2 separate regions of the Homo sapiens genome follow, and region 2 is linked to region 1. Evidence: promoter capture Hi-C in 16 types of primary human blood cells and fetal thymus (Javierre and others, 2016). All regions are on one chromosome and are shown on one strand. The core of a region is centred on a gene start or on the middle of the fragment in contact, and the rest is flanking DNA. Distances in the headings are between cores, read along the strand shown.

Region 1 (3,233 bases), core at 723-3,222:
CCAATACTTAATATGTGCTTTCATGTTCCTAAGCGTTTTTGTGGTAGGTAGTGTAAATGTTGAGGATAGAGAATTGAAAACATTCTGAAAAAGAGGACAGAGTCATTCTAAATAAGAATAATTCTATTAAAAAATCACCTATTAAAAAAGAACTCTTGAAGATCAGAGGAAAGCAGGGAAGGAAAGACTGGAAGATAGGGAGATGGTAATATTTAGGTGAACAGTGACTGAGAGTGTAGAGGTGAATATGAGAAGCAAGGACCAAAAATGAAACTCTGGGGAGAGAGGAAGAAGTTTAAACAGGAAGTTTAGAAACATCACCGTGAATTTAATGATGGCATATGATCGACTACCACTGTTATGTTGATTTTTTTTATTACTATTTGTTTATGCTTTCAAACTTTTGTCACTTTTGGACATGATTATTATTAGACTAATTCTGTACATTCTAGTCACAGAAGGAGGGAAAAAAAGGTGGTCAAAGAAGGAAGAAACATAGGAAGTAGAATGGAAAGAGGGAGGAAGGTCACAGCAGTACCTAAAACCATGCTATGCAATGCTTTAGTTTTAGGAACTGATCTTTATATTATCTCATATGAATGAGAAAACATACTTAAAGATCACAAATGGGTAAATTGTACAACTGTTGTTTTTAAATTTCATGACTTAAGCAATTTCCCATATATTTTGTTTTTCTAGCTATTTTGACTCCTCTTCCCATAAAGGATTCAAGAAAATTTTAAATATAGTTTTTAAGGTTTTTCAGTAGTGTCTTTGAATACTTTTAACATCTGACCTACATCTTTCTGTAAAGGACTTTAAGATGATTTCCCTCATGATATTTTCAATAGCAGTTTATGATTTGAGGTAGACGTTCTTGTTATCACTACAACCATTCTTTTTTGTTGCTGTTTCCTGAAAGAAGGTTGTGGCATCGCACTCTTTGATCTATCTTGCAATTAAATTGGCCATGAAAGATAATGTGATTCATCTAACTTTTATATGAAAAGTAAAAGGAAATATATTGCTCATTTCAAAAATTCAATTCAGGCCAGGCACAGTGGTTCACGCCTATAATCCCAGCACTTTGGAAGGCCGAGGCAGGCGGATCATGAGGTCAGGAGTTTGAGACCAGCCTGGCCAACATGGTGAAACCCCGTCTCTACTAAGAATACAAAAATTAGCCAGGCATGGTGGCAGGCACCTGTAGTCCCAGCTACTCGGGAGGCTGAGGCAGGAGAATCGCTTGAACCCGGGAGGCAGAGACTGCAGTAAGCTAAGATTGCACCACTGCACTCCAGCCTGGGCAACAGAGAAAGACTCCATCTCAAAAAAAAAAAAAAAAAAGAAAGAAAAAAAAAAAAGAAAATTAAATTCAGTAACTTTAAAAAACAAATTTTTGTTACAAATTAAAGAAAATAATTGACTTCCCTATTTATTTTGACTCAAAACTGGACAACCACTGGCATTTGACTGCTATAATGATTTAAAAATTAATAAGCTGATTCCTGCTCAGAAAATGCTTCTTCTAATGCAGTTCTAGCTACAGTGTGGAATATCTGTCTCCTTTAGGTACACCTTGGATGATCTGGACTCTAAAAATCCAAGTTACACCCAAGATTCCATTATCCTGTGGTTACTCACTTGGACCACAGACATGTAGGACCTGTCTGAAAGAAATATAAGAATCAAGTGGAAGTCAACCAGTGAATCATCCCTATAATGTAGTGAAACTTTAGAAAGAAGAGCCGGGAGGATGTATTGGTTGTTAGGAAAATGTAGGCTACCAGTAGAAAATGACATTCTCTATTAATAAGATCTGAGGTGCGACACACATAATTGTCCCAATTTTTAAGATTGATGGGGAGCATGAAGCATTTTTTTAATGTGTTGGCAGGCCCCATTAAATGCATAAACTGCATAGGACTCATGTGGTCTGAATGTATTTTAGGGCTTTCTGGGAATTGTCTTGACAGAGAACCTCAGCTGGACAAAGCAGCCTTGATCTGAGTGAGCTAACTGACACAATGAAACTGTCAGGCATGTTTCTGCTCCTCTCTCTGGCTCTTTTCTGCTTTTTAACAGGTAAGTTTTTTCTTAAAATTAAGATCCCATATTTATACTGAACTGGATATGATGAGTAGTTGTTTATCATATTTTAAATCCTAATGATTTTGATGTAAAAGACCAATTCTGAGAGATTATCATAATGATGATAATGATTGTGATGACGACAATGGTTATGGTAATAATTATTAAAATTACTGTGATTTGTTGAGCATATACTATATTCTAGGCATGTACGAAGGGATTTTATGTATTGTCTCTGAGACTCATAATAAGGTATTTCTATCTCTGTTCTTCATATAAGAAACTGTGGAACAGAGAAATTGAGAAAATCAGCAAAAGACTTGCAACTAGTAGTTAGAATCTGGAATTTGAATCAGATTCTCTTGCCATCACATTTAATGTTTGTTCCATAAAACTAGATTGGAGGATGGATAATTGCATTAAATATTGGTTTTGCTTTCCAGAACAAAGAAATATTTTCCTCCCCTTAGTTATTATTACAAAGACATTCAAATAATTAAATTAAGACAATGGGGAAATTGGAAACTCAATGAGAAAAATCTTTGAAAATATGTAATTGAAACTTAGAATGCAGAAACATATGTTTCTGGTGAGCTAAATAATCTTAGAGAAGGAGAATATCTTTGGACACTTTAGTGAGGTTCAAAGCACAATCATACTTCAAGGTTATGTTTTTTAAGACAGAACCATCGGAATGAGCAGGTCCATCATAAGCTATTTTCTTCCTTATTATTCTACTCTTTCACGTTGTAGGGCACAAAGCAAATGCTAGTTTTTAGACCTAAGACCTAGTTTCATCTCTTCTATTAATGGCCTGTGTCACTTAAAGAAATAACATAATTTTCTGAGATATTTTGTCATTTGTAAAATAATAGAAATAAAACTAAGCCCTGGGACCTTCCATATCTTATGTATCATTTTGTGTGACAGTAGCAGATGAATTTTACTACTATGCAAGATTTTAAATGGATGTACAAGTAAAAAAAAAATCAATGAGATTTAGCTGATAGAGAAGCCAGTGTTCACTGTAGCTGGTCATAATTACAAAAACAAATACACTTAGAAATACAAAAAAAATGGGTAAAGGATTCCTGTGATATTATGGAGTAAGCTTGACTACTAAAGCCAAATAACCTTAATGG
Region 2 (3,213 bases), core at 546-3,045, 470 kb after region 1:
GAAAGGCAATTTTTAAAAATGTTAACATGTTTCAAACATAAAAATAGAAGGCGAAAATTCTATTCCAGTTTCACGAGGAAAATCTTTAAGGTAGCATTGTGATCCCACTGTGACACACTAGAATCTTCTGAGGCGGGAATTACATCGTCGGAAATTAAGTTCTGAGCCTCATTGAAGGGAGTGTAGCTATGAAAATAAGAACATACTGCCTTAATTATCAGATGGTCCTGGCACTGAGAAGCTGCTCCTGGGCTCCTTTCTCTAGACCATAGACCTCTAATTTGTAAAGGGAGAACGTTGTACTAAGATATCCGATTTCCTTCTGCTTCTCACACTATCAGATTCTATGTCTGTAGCAGAATTAGGTCCCAGTGATTCAATTAATGAGAATGTGACTTAATTAAAATAATTAGCTGTTGAGGCTCCTCCCCCATCCAAATGGGGAGGTCCTCCTTATAATTCTTGAGATAGCAGGATTTGAGGTCAAGAGGAAATGATGGGGTAATAAAAAGGACATGAGGATTTGAGGAGAGAGTTAAAGAGCAGAGAAACTGAAGGCAGCACCTGAAGTTGGAGAGGCAGGTGGGAAAAAAGCAGGAAAAGAGGGAATTTGAATGTTCCTGGAAATTATGTTGCACCTTCCTGTTGCTGAGACATACTTACGAAAGATTTGGGTTATTTTGAAATAGCTGTAGATTGCTAGACTGTGTTCTTTTGATGAAAACACCATTTCTGGACCAACCATGTGGACTACAGCATTATCATTATCCCTATTGGTTTCAGAGATGCCACTAAGCCACGTGGTCAAGCTTACTCCCTTTCAGACTGGTACATCTCTTCCCCCATAATCCTCACCCCGCACCCTAAGAAAATCTCTTACATGGGACTATTGGATGCATCCCAAAGGTGGCTATTTGACCCCTTTTACTTGGGAAAACCCAGGATGACAAATGTGTGGGAATTTTTTCTTCCACAGTTCACAGTTTTCTTTAGCTGGGCCCATATCCATCCTTCCCACATGGACATAAGCAGTGGACGACTGTGTATTTTACTTTTCTGAAGTTTAATTCCTCTCATTTTTTTTCTTTTGTGTTTTAAATCTCCTTTATGCTTTTGAATTGAAATAGGAAGATAATTGACCTAGATTGCTTTCCACTCTTCCCTCCCCTCTCTCATCTGCTGACTCGGGACAAACTTCAAACACAATTTAGGCACTGTCTCTACAGTTTCTAAAAGCTTTCCTGACCTCTTTCCTTAATTCCATAAAATCTGCGCAAAGCTCATCACCTCACTTATTGCACTGTATTAAAACGATGCATTCATGTGGCCACCTCTCCTTCATGGTAAGCACCGTATCTCCTTCACCTCCTTCTCCATAACACAGCACAGCCTCTGAAATGAAGCCAGTCTTCAGCAAGTGCTTTGATGAACAGTAAATTTTGAAGCAGCTCTTGAAGACTCCCTTGAGGTCCATTTTCTTTTGCTGAAGCCCAAAGAGGTGGGGAATATAGGGAAAGTCCTTCTCTAGGTTCCCATGGGAACTGAAATAAATGCAGCAACAATTAGAGGAGAAATGAATGCACTAAAAATATCATTTTACAAAGTAAAGGAATGTTACTATTTCAAGTGCTCAATTATACCTGCTGCCCTTTCTTTGCCATAGGAGAATGTTTAAAACAGCTTACAAAATTATGGTTCTTTGTTAATTAAAAAGCTTATTCACCAATCCTAATAATACTATATATATATAGATGTATGTGTATGTATATATACAGATATAAAATATCGTCTAGATCTATGATTTTCTTTCTTCCTTTTATTTATTCATTCAGCCAATCTTTACTGCATGCCAACAATAATGTGCTAGACACCATGCTAAGCTTCAGGGACACAACAGTGACTAAAAGAGCCAAGATAGTCTTTCTTCATGGAGTACACAGTCTAACAGGGTAAATAGACAACTTGAAAAGCAAGCAAACAAATAAATATAGTCTTACAAATTGTTCAAGTGACATGCAGGAACTAGCAAGGTGCTATTATGGAGACTAACGGAGGGGTCGTTGGGTTGGGCATCACTCAGTAAGAGGCACCTAATGTTAGACCCAGAGGAAGAGAAGGGACTGGTCTACAAAGAGCTGGAGGTAAACTGTTCCAGCCCAAAGGAAGTGCAGGTGCAACGACTTCAAGAAAAAGGGAATCAGGAGCTTGAAGAATGGAAAGAAGGCTCGTGTGGCTGCAGCAGAGCTGAACAGGAGGAGATTGACTATGTATGACAGAGAAAATTTAGATTTTGCTCAAAGGGCAATGGGAAGTCACTGAAGCATTTTAAGGAGGGATGTGCTATAATCCCATTTCAAAAGATCACTGCAGTTACTCCAAGATAACAGTTTTGGAAGGTGAATAAAAAACGTGAAAGCTAACTATGAGATTTTCAAGCAGTGAAGCAAGAGATGATAATGGTTTAAATAAGGATGGTGGTAGTAGAGACTGGACAATATGAATGTGGCTGAGAAATATTTTGAAAGCAGACACACCAAAATTTATTTGAAAATTTGAATTCTAGAATTCTATGACAGAATAAAAGCAAGCTCAACCCTATTTTATTCTGTGATAAAGTCAGTGTTTCAAATAAAGTTGAACTTGCTTTTTCAAGAAGGTAAAAAATATTGATTTTGAGGAAACTCTGAGAGACCTAAGCAGAACAACTAAAGAGATAGCTGGATGTTCACTTGCTCTCTCCCCTCTCCTTTCCTTTCTCCTTCTTTCCTCCCTCCACCACTTGCTTTCTCTTCTGCACACATCCTTGGGCCCTCCTCATTCTCAGGCAACCTCCACCTTGCTCTGTGGTGGGCTCTGTCTTCATCCTGTCTCTTTCCCATGTTGCCTACCCTTTGCTTATAACTGTCACTATGTATCTGGCTTCTGCCTCTCCTGCAAGCAAAAACAATGACTTTATCATAAAATAATGTCCTTCTATGGATTTCCTTCAACCCACCCTTCCAAACTACTCATGTGTTTATAACTACATGAACCATCCCCTGGGCTAATAAGTTGGGGTCAAACACATACCCTTCTCCACATACTTGCTAAGTCCTTACCAACCTTAGTTGGCCTTTCCCATCTCATTCTTCTCCACTATCTTTTATAATTAAACATAGGATTTCAGCTGCAGTGACATGGAATAGTGAGTGGCTTATTTTTGGACTAGGAAGG

Evidence for each region. Contacts are between HindIII fragments. The CHiCAGO score rates a contact against its expected background, and 5 or more counts as called.
Region 2: a contact is called between a fragment that was not itself captured here and the fragment with the promoter of SPINK6 in region 1, in 1 of 17 cell types (endothelial precursors). The highest score is 5.8, in endothelial precursors.

What each region holds. Positions count from the first base shown.
Region 1 is chr5:148,201,070-148,204,302 of GRCh38, forward strand. It overlaps SPINK6 (serine peptidase inhibitor Kazal type 6), which reads left to right and starts at 1,973. Exons shown (of 4, transcript NM_205841.4): 1 at 1,973-2,085. The coding sequence starts at 2,028. The HindIII fragment of the contact is 4,979 bases long and covers 1-3,200 here.
Region 2 is chr5:148,675,695-148,678,907 of GRCh38, forward strand. No RefSeq gene overlaps it. Among named protein-coding and RNA genes, the nearest start is that of HTR4, 23 kb to the left of the region's middle. The HindIII fragment of the contact is 166 bases long and covers 1,713-1,878 here.